5 separate regions of the Homo sapiens genome follow, and all the other regions are linked to region 1. The links are contacts of gene promoters, found by promoter capture Hi-C in blood cells and fetal thymus (Javierre and others, 2016). All regions are on one chromosome and are shown on one strand. Each heading gives the region's core, a stretch centred on a gene start or on the middle of the fragment in contact. The rest is flanking DNA. Distances are from core to core; before and after follow the strand shown. Region 1 holds the start of CYRIB (CYFIP related Rac1 interactor B). Region 2 overlaps ASAP1 (ArfGAP with SH3 domain, ankyrin repeat and PH domain 1). Region 3 overlaps ASAP1 (ArfGAP with SH3 domain, ankyrin repeat and PH domain 1). Region 4 overlaps ASAP1 (ArfGAP with SH3 domain, ankyrin repeat and PH domain 1). Region 5 overlaps ASAP1 (ArfGAP with SH3 domain, ankyrin repeat and PH domain 1).

Region 1 (2,645 bases), core at 84-2,583:
CACCACCCACTCGTTCATCTCACAATTATCTATGGGGTGCTTCCCACGTGCTTCAACGCACCCTTTCTAGGTGCTGGGGATGCAGAAATTCAAGGTGACTGGCAATGACACTTTCTATCACTGCGCCCCCTGCAGGCCAGGAAATCTACGCTCGTTTTCTCAAGGCCCCACTCGCAGCAGCCCATTTCACAGACGGGACCCTAAGACTCAGAGAGGGTAAGCGACTTGCCCAAGGTCACACAGCTAGTAAGCGGCAGGGCCAGGAATTAAACATAGCTGCAAAGTGCATGTGACACTCCCCCGCAGCCCCAGCTCTATCCCTCCGCACCCCTCCACCTCTTGCAGCAGGGTGGGTAGCAAAGGCACACTCCAAGTAGCTCCAGCATGGTAAGACCTCGATTCCTCCTTCGTTCCACTCCTGACACAGGACACACGTTTCAAAGGACACACAGGTTTTTCCCAACCCCAGTGTGTGTGTACACAGCCCCAGGAAAGCCCTGCAGGCTGCAAGGGCACCCACCCGCTAACACTGAACTTCCATTTAAAAAGAAAGATAATGAAAAGATAAAAGGCGAAGAGGAAGTGCTCTTTAAACACAGGCGGGTGGCTACCCCAGGAGGAAGTCTTGAGGCCAGTGGAGATTTTGTTCACCCCCTCTAGTTCCTCAAATCCAATGCGACTGGTCTTCCAAGCCCCTGATGGGAGGTGGCCGGGGGCCAGCGCTGCTCCCGGGGTCAGTCCCCGCACCGACACCCGGCTCGCAGGAAGGGTCTGCCAGGGACCAGCCACCCCGACCCGAGCGCCCCCTGCCTCGAGGCGCACAAGGCGCCGGCTCCGCAGCTGGGTGGACCCGGGCGGCGGCCCCGCTGCGCGCTCCCCTCGCGTCCGCCCGCCGCCCCCCGCGCACTCGAGGCGCCTCCCCCGGGACCCCCGCGCCCGCCGGCCCGGACGCCCCCACCACGGCGGCGCCCCCTGTCCACCCGCCGCAGCGCCCGGCCCGGCGGCCCGGATGGTACCTCCGCCTCTCCCCGCACCCATCACGCGCGCGCCCCGCACCCCGCGCCCTCTCCGGGGGCAAATCGGATCCAGGGGCGCGCGCGCGGGCCGGCCGGGCGGCGGCGCCTTCAGAGCCCCGGCACGTACCTGGCGGCCCGGGCGGGCGAGGGGAGCGCGGCGCGGGAGCGCAGGAGCCTCGGAGCCTCCGGTGCCGCCGCCGCCGCCGTTTCCGGGTTGGCGGGGCTCACGTCACCGCCACAGGTTTGCGAGCTGCCCCCGCCGCGGCGGCAGCAGCAGCAGCAGCAGCAGCCCGGGCGAGTGCCAGGCGAGAAATAACTATAAAAGGAAGAGGCGCGGCGAGGAGGAAGAGGAAGCGCTGTTTACCTTCGAGAAGCCGAGCCGCCGGCGCTCGCACAAAAGGAGGACGCTCGCCTCGCGACGCGCCTCCCCCCGCGCCCAGTCCCCGCCGCATCGCGGGGCCCCGGCGTCAGCGCGCGCCGCGCCCCGGGACCGCCCCGCGCCGGCCCCCACCCCAGAACCCCGCGCCCGCCTGGCCCGTGTCCTCCCGAGCCGGGGCGCCACGGGCCCGGGACGGTGGTGACCTTGGGCAAGTCACCGCGGGGCGCGCTGCGATTGGGGGTCATCGCCCTCATTGTGCGAGGAGGAAACCCGGCTCCGAGAGGCGCAAGAGTGACCCCCAAGGTCACTGCCTGTCAGGCAGGGCTTGGGCTCGAACCCCGGTCTCCAGACCTTCAGGCCGGCCAGGTTCCCATCCCTGGGTCGCTTCCCCCTCACCTGGACTTCAGGAATGGTGACAGCCCCTGCCTGGCTCACCTCGCAGCGGGGTCAGTGAGAGGAATGCTGTCCACGCACCCATTCAGCCCTCCCGCAGATACTTACTGGGCCTACTAAGTGCCCGGGCTGTTCTAGGCCCTGGAGCTGCAGCTGCGAACCAAAACAAAATCCCTGCCCGGGAGGGGCAGCGGGGACAGGCCGTAAATATCTGATGGGTCCTATGGTGCTAAGTGCTGTGCCAGAGGAAAAATAAAGCGGGGTGAGGGGACGGTGCGGGCTGTCGGTGCTACCCTAAGCGGTTCTCCAAGGACTTTAAATTTAGTACAGAAATTCCCACATAAAAAGCTCCTCGCCATAATTCCAGTTTCAGGTATTATGGGAGACCTCATCTTTCCCCTGATCTAGAATGGAAAATACTGTGTTTTTCTCCCTGTAACAGGACATGCCTAGGAAACTGATACTCTCCTTCCCTCTGCCTTGCTCCCCTGGCCCAGAAGCCCATCCTATCATTATCTTGACATTCAACCAGAAATTTCTCGGGAAGATAGACAACATTCTCTCAAGTATCTTTCTGCTGTCCTCTAGCAGGGTATCAAAAGGGTTACATCAAAGGCTTCCATTGTCTTTCCACCTCCACCTCCAGCTATAGGGGGGTTGGAGTGTGCTCACATCATACTCAGTGCTGAGTTACCTGATTAGGAGCCAGTTGTTCCATTTCTTTTCTTTTTTCTTTCTTTTTTTTTTTTTTGTCTAAGACAGGATTTTGCTCTGTTTCCCAGGCTAGGTAGCGCAGTGATGCGATAGCTCACTGCAGCCTCAAATTCCTGGGCTCAAGCGATCCTCCCACCTCAGCC
Region 2 (2,645 bases), core at 104-2,603, 350 kb after region 1:
CAGAATGGGAGAAAATAGTTTCAAATCGTATACAGGTTGAGTATTCCTTATCTGAAATGCTTGGGACCAGAAGTGTTTCAGATATTTTTTTTTATTTCTGGAATGTTTACATATACATAATGAGACACCTTGGGGATGGAGCCCAAGACTAAACACAGAATTCACTTATGTTACATATAAACCTTATACACATAGCCTGAAGGTAATCTTATACTATATTTTTAATGATTTTGAGCAGGAAACAAAGTTTGTATACAATGAAATATCAGAAAGCAAAAGTGTCAGCATCTCATGTTGGCATTCAAAAAGTTTTGGATTTGGGAGAATTTCACATTTGGGATTTTCAGATTGGGAATGCTCAACTTGTATTTGATAAAGGCCTAGTATTCAAAATATATAAACTTTTGCAACCCAACAATAAAGAGATAAATAACTAATTTAAAAGTGGACAAAGGGGTTAAATAGACATTTCTCCAAAGATATACAAGTGGATAATAAGCACATGAAAAGATGCTGAACATCACTAAACATTAGGAAAATGCAAATCAAAAACACAATGAAATGCCACTTTGCACCCACTAGGATGGCTGTAATAAAAAAGATGGAAATTGACAAGTATTGTCAAGGATGTGAAGAAACTGGAACCCACCACATTGCTGGTAGGAATGTAAAATGGTGGAGTAGCTTTGAAAGACAATTTGGCAACTCCTCAAAAGGTTAAACCAAGTGTTATCATCTGACCCAGCAACTGCTTACTATTGTGGACTGAATGCATGTGTCCCACCCAAATTCACATGTTGAAATCCTAACCCAATGTGATGGTATTACAACGTGACACTTTTGAGAGGTAATTAAGTCATGAGGGTGGAGCCCTCATGAATGGGAACAGTGCCTTATAAAAGAGACCCCAGGCCGGGCACAGTGGCTCACGCCTGTAATCCCAGCACTTTGGGAGGCTGAGGTGGGGAGATCACCTGAGATCAGGAGTTCAAGACCAGCCTGGCCATCATGGCAAAACCCCGTCTCTACCAAAAATACAAAAAATTACCCAAGCATGGTGGCGCACACATATAATCCTAGCTACTCAGGAGGCTGAGGCAGGAGAATAGCTTGAACCCAGGAGGCGGAGGTTGCAGTCAGCTGAGATCACACCGTTGCATTCCAGCCTGGGGGGTGACAGAGCAAGACCCCATCTCAAAAACAAACAAACAAACAAAAAAAACAGAGAGCAGCTCTCTAGCTATTTTTCAGCCATATAAGGACACAATGAGAGGTCAGCAGCCTGCAAGGGAAGAGGGCCTCACCAGAATCCAACCATGCTGGTACCCTGATCTCAGACTTCCAGCTTTCAGAACTGAGAGAAATACATTTGTTGTTTGTAAGCCATCCAGTCTAGGGTAATTTGTTATAGCAGCCCAAACTGACTAAGACACTCCTAGGTATATACACAAGAGAAATGAAAACATATGTGCACATAAAACCTTGTACACCAATGTTCACAGCAGCATCATTCTTAACATTCAAAAAAATGGAAACAGCTCAAACGTTCATGAACAAACAAATGGATAAACAAAATGTGGTATATCCATACAATGGAATATTATTCAGCCATAAAGAGTAATAAAGTACTGGCACATGCTACAACATGGATGAAACTTGGAAACATTATGCTAAGTCAAAAGTCAGATACAAAAGACCACATACTGTATGATACCTTAAAGGTCCAGACTAGGCAAATCTATAGAGACAGAAAGCAGATTAGTGGTTATCAGGGGCTGTGGGGGAAGTGGTAATGTGCAATGACTACCAGTGGGTACAGGGTTTCTTGTGAGGAGTGACAAAAATGTTCTGGAAATAGACAATGGTGATAGTTCTATCATTTTGTGAATACACTAAAAACCACTGAATTGTATATCTTAAAAGTGCAAATTTTATATGAATTATCTCAATTTTAAAATAACCACTATGGTGGTGAAGATGGAAGGCATACCTTACCTGTTAATAACAACTAGAATGACGATGATTTAGTATCTACTATATACAAGGCAATTTATTTATGATTTTCTTTAACCCTCACTGCAACCCTACAAAGTAGCTATTATTCTCCTCATGTTTAATAGATAGGAAATTGAGACTCAGAGAGGTTAAGTGCTAGACCTAGGGTGCTGAAATGAGTAAGTGGTAGAGTTAAGATTCAAACAGAAGTCTATCTAATTTCAAAGTTCAAGCCCTTTGCACTAAACCGCACTCTCTGTACAAATGGTACTCTGCTGATGTGGCAGGACTACCAGTTATGTACCTGCTATGTAGTCCCCGTTTCTTCACTAACAGAGCCCCAGTTTGATTCGGGGCAGCAATGTGTTTAGCTAAAAGACTCATCTTCCAGCCTCCCTTACAGCTAAGGTGGCTATATGGCTAAATCTAGCCAGTGAGATGTAAGCAGAAATGCTATGTAGGAGTTTTGGTAAAGTGCCTTAAAAAGGGCTAACACAGCTGGAAGAGGACTCCTGTTATCCTTCCCTTCTTATTGCATCTTGCTGCCTACTGTAATGTGGTTGTGACGGCTGACACTCCAGCAACCATTTGGGATCCTAAAGCAATATGATAAAGAGAGTAGAACCAGGGAAACAGAAAAGGCTTGGGCT
Region 3 (2,645 bases), core at 73-2,572, 340 kb after region 1:
GATAGAGCTTGATACTGAATCTACATTCTGTATCTTCATTCATTTCATCAAACATTTCTATATCTTCAGAAATAACTGAACACACCAGGTGAATACATTAAGAAAAGCCTCTAATGCCAGACCCAAACTTGATTTCCAGTTTCCATAAGAAAACTTTTAGGCTGCATTTTTTGAGGGCAGGGTTCTTCTTCATTGTATCCCTGGGCCTAGCACACTGCTGGGCACATAGGAGGCACTGAACAATCTGTATATTGACTACATGGTAATTTGAGTGATTTCACTTGTATTCCTAGGATGAATGTTCTATACTATTTCCCTCCCCTATGAACTGCCCCTTTCTACCCTGTTAAAGAGTTTTAGCCTTATTTCTTTATTTCTTAAAGACCACTAGCTTCTCCATAATACAATCTGGATAACCCCAATACCTCAGTAGGACTTGGAAAATGACTTGTATATAGCAGGGCCTCCCCAAAAATGTGTTGAACAAATGCTGTTCACGGATTATACTCAAATGAGTTCCCACATTTAAATCTGAAAACTCATATCCAAATCTTCGAAAGTACAGGGAAAAAATAGTATATTTAAGTATCACTATTAAGAACTCTGAAATATAAACATGAAGAAACACTAAGCCTCCAAGGAACTTAGGCACCTTTTTTAATCAGACCAAAACTTGAAGGTGCAATGACAGCAAAGTCTCCTATGTTCCCTATAAAGCCACTGAAATATGTTTTTGTAGACATTTAGAATACCTATTTTATGTCTCAACTGTTTTAAGATTTCTAAACTCTGGGCCAGGCGTGGTGGCTCATGCCTGTAATCCCAGCACTTTGGAAGGCTAAGGCAGGCAGATCACTTGAGGTCGGGAGTTTGAGACCAGCCTGGCCAACATGATGAAACTGCGTCTCTATTAGAAATACAAAAATTAGCCAGGCATGGCGGTGTGCACCTGTAGTCCCAGCTGCCCCAGGAGGCAGAGGTGAGAGAATTGCTTGAACCTGGGAGGCAGAGGTTGCAGTGAGCTGAGATCGCACCACTGCACTGCAGCCTCGGCGACAGAGTGAGAGAGCCTGTTTCACGGAGAGAAGGGAGTGAGATTTTTTTTTTTTGAGACGGAGTCTTGCTCTGTCGCCCAGGCTGGAGTGCAGTGGCGTGATCCTGGCTCACTGCAAGCTCCGTCTCCCGGGTTCATGCCATTCTCCTGCCTCAGCCTCCTAAGTAGCTGGGACTACAAGGCGCCTGACAACACGCCCAGCTAATTTTTTTTTGTATTTTTAGTAGAGATGGGGTTTCACTGTGTTAGCCAGGATGGTCTCGATCTCCTGGCCTCGTGTTCTGCCCACCTCGGCCTCCCAAAGTGCTGGGATTACAGGCCTGAGCCACCGCGCCCAGCCGGGAGGGAGATTTTTAAATTCCATTTTATTTACTAGCCACTTGACCTTAGAGAGAAATCATTTCATCTCTCTGGGCCTCAATTTCCTTCTCTATAAAATGGAAACGATAAATGTTCCTCTTTCAGAGAGCTCATATGAGAGGTAAATGTAAGCATTCATGCCATGTGTCGACAGCAGGCCTGGTATGGAGCAGCTGCTCAATAAATGAGCAGAACTTGCCTCCTTCATTGTCACCAAATTAAAATGTGGCCCAATATAAAATAACCAAGTAGACTTCCATTTATCATGTTGGACTCTCTCTCTGACAAAGGTACTAAGTATTAGCCACTCTAAGTCTTTAAATAGAGGGTCCCTTCTACTGTCTGGGTCACAGCAGTCCTAAAATGCCTGCCTGCTCCCGTTTAGGGAAAACGCTTATGCTCTCCTAGTCACTTACTCATAACTTAAAAATTGTCAAGAGTAAAATGGCACACATCAGTGTGCTTTCACTGCTGAATAAGTAAAACACTGGCTTTTTGCTTGGAAAACACTCACACGCCAGGATGAAACCTTGGCAGAACACCAGCTCATCCATTCCTGCCTCCCCAAGGTAGCCACTCATTGTGTGCCAGCCAAACCGTGAACCCCTGAGCCATGTGTGACCCTTCGCCCCAAAAGGTAAAGCCCAGAAGTAAACCAGAAGTAAACTCCTCTTTGCCTCTTCTTACCATTTTTGAGACGTAGCCTCACTCTGTCGCCTAACCTGGTGTGCAGTGGTGCGATCTTGGCTCATTGTAACCTCGGCCTCCCGGGTTCATATGATTCTCCTGCCTCAGCCTCCCAAGAAGCTGCGACTACAGGCATGCGCCATCATGCCTGGCTAATTTTTTAGTAGAGATGGGGTTTCCCTATCTTGGCCAGGCTGGTCTCGAACTCCTGACCTCAAGTGATCCACCTGCCTCAGCCTCCCAAAGTGCTGGGATTACAGGTATGACCCACCACGCCCAGCCTTCTTACCATATATTTCTCATCTACTTCCAAGAGTGCTCATCACAGAGATTTAACTAAAAGCATCAACATCTGCACAACACACCACAATCTCTACCAAGGAGACATAGTAAAAGAAAGAGTATGGATTAATTTGGGGCTCCAATCTTGGAGATCTAACAGTTTTTCAGTTGCGCTCTATGTATGTGCATTAGTGATCTAAAGAGCAAAAAAAGGTCATCAACAGGAAGGTACTTACTAGAACTAGGAAAATGTTTTTTTTAA
Region 4 (2,645 bases), core at 102-2,601, 320 kb after region 1:
CCTGAGAATTGAAAAGAAATGCAGATTATTGGGTCCTACCCCAAACCTACCAAATTAGAATCAGCACATAATAAGCTCTCCAGGTGATTTGTATGCACATTGAAGTTTGAGAAACACATTCAAAGCAAGCTGGATAAAGACAAGGCAATAAACCAAAGGAACTAATATGTGATGAATGTCTACTATGTACCAGTTTTGGTATTAGGCACTTTACATGGGTAAAAGAAATAAAGACTAAGGCAGGATGAATGGTGTCGGCATCTATCATGTGATGCATCAAAGAGATTCAGAAAAGATGCCATACTCTTACAATCTGAGAGGAGCATGGTAAAGCCAACCAGGGGGAAAAATACTTTTTGACAGTCTTCATTTTGACATAAGTCACCGAACAGTGACAAAAAAGTACCTATTTGCATTGTCTCTAAAAGACGGTAAGCCAGATAGATGTCAGACCTAGCAGAAAAGCTAAAAAGATACTAAACTCCCAATGAAACCACCAGAGAACATTTCAAGAAACTACTTCTCCCAAACAGCTCCAGTCTCATAAACTATAAATTTATGAAAGAATAAGAGAGAAAAGGGCAAAAAATGTCTTGACCTTAGTATAAAAATAGTTTTGATCTCTCAGAACCCCTGGAAGGATCCTGGGACTTCCCACAGGGAACCCCAGACCATACTTTACATATCTTTACAATAGGGACAATCACAAATAGCTAACCCAGTCAGGACTCACATCAGAGTTTGTATGAGGAAATAAGGAAAGGCTTGGGCATCAACAGCAAGAAAATAATGCCACAGGTTGGTAAAAGGGTGAGATTAATTCAAAAATATTTTAAAAGATGTTCATGTTTTCCATGTTAAATTACATTTAAGTTTGATTTAGGATCTGCTTACTTGTAACTATCATCTTAACTCCAATTGAGTGGTGCATGCTTCAAATAAGATCATAGGAAAATCACTCTATCACTCATATTAATCAGTAATTGGGTTGATTTCCTGTACCACCAACCACCTGCATTTGATTCCTCATTGATAATCAAGGCAACTTTTTGCTTTTTTAGAAGTCTCCAGTGTAACAAAAATGAGTACACTGCAAAGAGAGCCCTGTTATAAACTGTAAATTCTGAACGCTAATTAAGCATGCTAGTCCTCTCCAAATAATCAAATCCTAACATGTCCATGATAATTAACAGAAAAAAATTGTTACATAATCCTATCAGGAAATAAAAGTTGGTTATGTATAGATGGGGGTGAAGGAAGAGGTTTCTCTCCTTCCCATGAAAATTGAAGTACTAAAGGCTAGCCAAACCTCATCCACAACTTCTCAAAGACCTTCTGTAATACATCTGTTTTCATGCATTTCTTTCCATTTTTATAAGTCTTTTACTTTCCTCTCCTCTCAACTTGAAATCTCACCCATCCACCAAAACATTCTCTTAAGTCAGAACAGAGAAGAGGCAATGGCCAGACTTGGTAGCAAACTCCCTTGATCCTAAAATCGAACCTACATATAAAATAGTGACAGCCAGTTCCCCATGGGGATGGCAATTATAGCAACTATTTCTATTGTGCATTTACTACATACCAATGTGGAGTGTAAGATGCCTAATCCATTACTTCATTTTTGCTTCACAACAATCGTTGAAATACATATTACACTCATTTTACAGAGGAAGAACAGGCTCAGAGTGGTGAAGTGGCTTGCCCTAGATCACATATTTGGGCACTGGGGGATAAGACGACCTAAGGAGCCTGTGATGCTTTACATGCATTCGTTCACCTCACCCTCACAACAGACCCATGCAATAGTACAATACAAATATTACAGTTCAGAAAAAGGTATATATTTATAGGTGATGCTGGCAGCAGATGCCTAAGTAACAGAGAAGTAAAGTAACTTGCCCAAAACTGCACAGTTAAGTGGCAGCAGCAGGCTTAACAGTACCTACCTAAATGGTGGTCATGAGGTTTACATCAGTGGATGTAGTTAACTACCTGACATACAGCAAATACTCAATAAAAATTAGCTGCTACAATTAAAGTATTCTGCATAGGGGAAGTATTCAACAAAGAACAGCCAGCAACAACAGAAGATACGTGTCAGGTAAATAAAGACAGGACTCTCCTTCCAAGAAAAGAACATTATCCTGACTACTCCCCAATAGCTTTACTGCCCACAGTCATCCCAGCAAACACTCTGCAGTATCTTTAATGACTCTAGCTAGTCATGCATCTGTGTGGAATTTTTTCCATTTCTTTTATTAACAGCAGGCAATGGGGTGTGCTGGAAAATGTACACACTGGGCTAACAGTGGCTCCGGTTCCATCACCTTCAAACTACATGACATCTGTGGGCCTGGTTTCCTCAGCTGAATGCTGAGGACAATCCCATCTCCCCTGCCACACCAATGCTCCACACAGAGAGCCAGCAGAAATTCTGACTTCCTACTGCTGCTCTGGCTGCCTTGTTGCTTCAGTGGATCACAATCCTTCTGAGGACTGTTTCCTGGGCATTTCCCCCAGAGCAGCAGTTGCTGGGCTCTTTCTGCACACTGGTTGGTCCAGAATTGGGCTGCTGGGCAGACAATCAAAATCACAAGATGGGGGCAGAGTAACAAAAGCACCTGGGCACTAATGAGCAGCTT
Region 5 (2,645 bases), core at 99-2,598, 300 kb after region 1:
ATTTACAAAAAGAAGAAGAAACAAAACCAAAAAAAGTCTATGAATACTCCACAAACTGGTACATTCTTTGTATATAACCAAGAGAGATCATATAACATAATGATCATGCCCTGTCAGGGATGAGAGTTGAGATCCAGAAAGAGAAAAATGAAACTGGGTCCCAGGAAATAAGAGCTAGGAACAGGGGGTCTAAGGCAGGGGTAAGTCTCAAAACCAGGACTATCCACTAATAATGTTCAGAATTGCAACAAATAGGAAGAAAAACCCTACACATTGAGCAGAGCATAAGGAAGAGGCTCCTCTTCCTTTCTCTAAGGAGAAGAGGCGAGTCTGAATTAGGCTGAGCCAAGAAATAGACCACTTGTTGCTTCCCAGCTGTGCTCCCATGAGGTGTCTGGAGTGCCTCCATTAGCAGGGTCCCCTGCTTCCCAAGTTCAATGACAGATATGCCCCCTAGCAATATCTGGTCTACCCAGCTGCAATTTTAAATGGAATGACTATTACAGTGTATGGCGTACAGAGGAAATTGGAAAATGCAAAAGAAAAAAAGCAACACTGAGCACCCAAACCAATTCACAACACTTCTGCCCATCCATCATTCCCATTCTCCCTAACTTCCAAGTGCTAGCTTCCTTTTTTCTTGGTAATACAGCTACTAGCCTAGGCCTAGATATAAATCCCACTTATCTACTCCCTCTACCTGGTTTCATGGCTCATCTTCCCACTGGCATTGGCCACTCCCTTCGCCTGTGCCCTTCGGGTCCCTTCTCTGCAGAGGACCAACTCATCATCTATTCCATGGCTAGGAGAGAAAAGCACTTCCGTCTTTTCAGCTTAAAAGGTATTCCCTTTCCTCAAGACCTATTCTCAAAGAATGCTGTCCCTTTTCTACTGTCTGTTCCCATCCACAAGTTCACCTGTGACCACTATTATGCCATCTTCATACCAGTCTCCTCTTCTGAGGGCTATGCCAACCATCTTTCTCTACTGAGCTCCAGGACACTAATACTTCAATAACTTTTCCATCTAATCACAATTCTTTCTACTGCAACATCACTCTCAGCAGTTTTGGTATCCATATTGGTAAACATCAACTTCTCCACCTCCTCACTTCACTAAGCTTTATCTCTTTTCTACTCCAAGTATTCCTGATGTGGCCTTGTGACAGACACTGCTGATGTGCTGCCCCAACATCCATTCTCCCCATCTCCTTAGTACTAGAATCCTGGTTTTTACCAGAATATTTTGAAAATACAAGTTTCCATTTCCTAGCCTCTCTTACAGTCAAATGTGGTCAATAAATACTAGTGTTATTTATATGGGTTCTGGAAAAGAAGTGGCTCAGCTGGGAAAGCCCAATTTTGCCCTTCCATTTTAGATTCTCCATCTCAGAAATGACAGCTGGAGCTCTGGCAGCAATCTTAAGCTGAGAGGTGACCTTGAGGATGGAAGTCATGTGCTGAGGAAGGTGAGATCAAAAGGAAGGAGGCCTGAATCCCAAAGGACGCCACAAACCTGGCATTCCAGGCCTATGTCTAAGTTCCTTTTAGAGGAGAGAGAAATAAACTATCGCATTTAAGCTTCTGTTTATTTGGGATTTTCCCCCTGTAATATGCAGCTCAATGTAAATAATTAATACTGGCCAAAGATCAACTAATGGCAAATAACAAAATGCGGTGCAGGCTCTCCAACACGACAACTCATTAAGAAGAGTCTAAAGTGACTTGAAGGCCAATGTTTCTTAACCTTATGTCAGTACAGGCTATGCTGTTGAATGTTCCAGGCCCTACTATCATTTGGTACATTATACACCTTGAGACTCATTCCTATTTTGCTTTTAGTTTCACATCATGCTTTTTTTTTTTTTTTAATCTCTACAGCTGTCTATAACAAAACTTTTTAGGAAAGTACCACAAATATGTTAAACAGAAGAAGCAAATCTCAAATAATGTGCAAAAGCTGTGAGTTTCTTCTTACATAAAACTGGTACCTAAGCAAGTGAGGGTTCATTTTATTTTTCACTCACCAATCCCCATATCATTATACAGTAACACCATACAGCCAAAACGGCCATGATATTCCTCCCTTCTCAGCCAAAATTGGGCAAGAGAGAATGACCCTTGTAGGGGAAAAGAAACCTCTACGATAAACTGAAATGCCACCATCAGGGTTTGTTGAAACTGTAGGAACAGGGTCTACGACTCACTTAGCTGCTAATGAGTTTCTATGATTCCAGATGGAGTAGTTCAAAGTAAGAAGTGAAGGGGCTGGACCTGTCTGTGAATCAGAATGAGCCCACGTCCTCCAGGAAGGTTTTTTATAGCCTCCTCTCCCAAATGGAAAAGCCAAATCCATCACTGATGCTTCCATCAGAACCTGTAGAGGTACTATCATAACACCTTCCACACAGTTTAGTGCACTTAACCTGGAAACCAGTTACCTCCATTGTGAGCTTTGAGGCCTGGGGCTCTGTTGCTACGCGTTTGTTTCACTAGTGCTAAGAGTGGAATGTAGCAGATGTTCAGCACATGATTGCTGAGTAAAAGCCATCCTTTGTGGCTGAAGTGATGAACATGGCATGGCAGGCCCTTTCCTCAAACAACTAATGAGCTGAGACCTGATACAGCAGCAAGAAGGACCCTATA

Evidence for each region. The method cuts DNA at HindIII sites, captures the fragments that hold promoters and counts their contacts. A CHiCAGO score of 5 or more calls a contact.
Region 2: a fragment that was not itself captured here is called in contact with the fragment with the promoter of CYRIB in region 1 in 1 of 17 cell types (neutrophils); the score reaches 5.9 in neutrophils.
Region 3: a contact is called between a fragment that was not itself captured here and the fragment with the promoter of CYRIB in region 1, in 3 of 17 cell types (naive CD8 T cells, fetal thymus and neutrophils). The highest score is 7.1, in naive CD8 T cells.
Region 4: a fragment that was not itself captured here is called in contact with the fragment with the promoter of CYRIB in region 1 in 1 of 17 cell types (monocytes); the score reaches 6.7 in monocytes.
Region 5: a contact is called between a fragment that was not itself captured here and the fragment with the promoter of CYRIB in region 1, in 1 of 17 cell types (total CD8 T cells). The highest score is 5.0, in total CD8 T cells.

The regions. Positions count from the first base shown.
Region 1 is chr8:130,015,227-130,017,871 of GRCh38, forward strand. It overlaps CYRIB (CYFIP related Rac1 interactor B), which reads right to left and starts at 1,334. Exons shown (of 14, transcript NM_001353258.2): 1 at 1,144-1,334. RefSeq lists silencers at 627-896, 1,087-1,276, 1,367-1,436, 1,487-1,546. The HindIII fragment of the contact is 5,812 bases long and covers 1-2,645 here.
Region 2 is chr8:130,369,109-130,371,753 of GRCh38, forward strand. The region is part of intron 2 of ASAP1 (ArfGAP with SH3 domain, ankyrin repeat and PH domain 1); the gene reads right to left. Among named protein-coding and RNA genes, the nearest start is that of ASAP1, 73 kb to the right of the region's middle. The HindIII fragment of the contact is 8,161 bases long and covers 1-2,645 here.
Region 3 is chr8:130,352,796-130,355,440 of GRCh38, forward strand. All of the region lies in intron 3 of ASAP1 (ArfGAP with SH3 domain, ankyrin repeat and PH domain 1), which reads right to left. Among named protein-coding and RNA genes, the nearest start is that of ASAP1-IT1, 58 kb to the left of the region's middle. The HindIII fragment of the contact is 5,460 bases long and covers 1-2,645 here.
Region 4 is chr8:130,336,355-130,338,999 of GRCh38, forward strand. The region is part of intron 3 of ASAP1 (ArfGAP with SH3 domain, ankyrin repeat and PH domain 1); the gene reads right to left. Among named protein-coding and RNA genes, the nearest start is that of ASAP1-IT1, 41 kb to the left of the region's middle. The HindIII fragment of the contact is 6,252 bases long and covers 1-2,645 here.
Region 5 is chr8:130,315,234-130,317,878 of GRCh38, forward strand. The region is part of intron 3 of ASAP1 (ArfGAP with SH3 domain, ankyrin repeat and PH domain 1); the gene reads right to left. Among named protein-coding and RNA genes, the nearest start is that of ASAP1-IT1, 20 kb to the left of the region's middle. RefSeq lists an enhancer at 2,189-2,248. The HindIII fragment of the contact is 460 bases long and covers 1,119-1,578 here.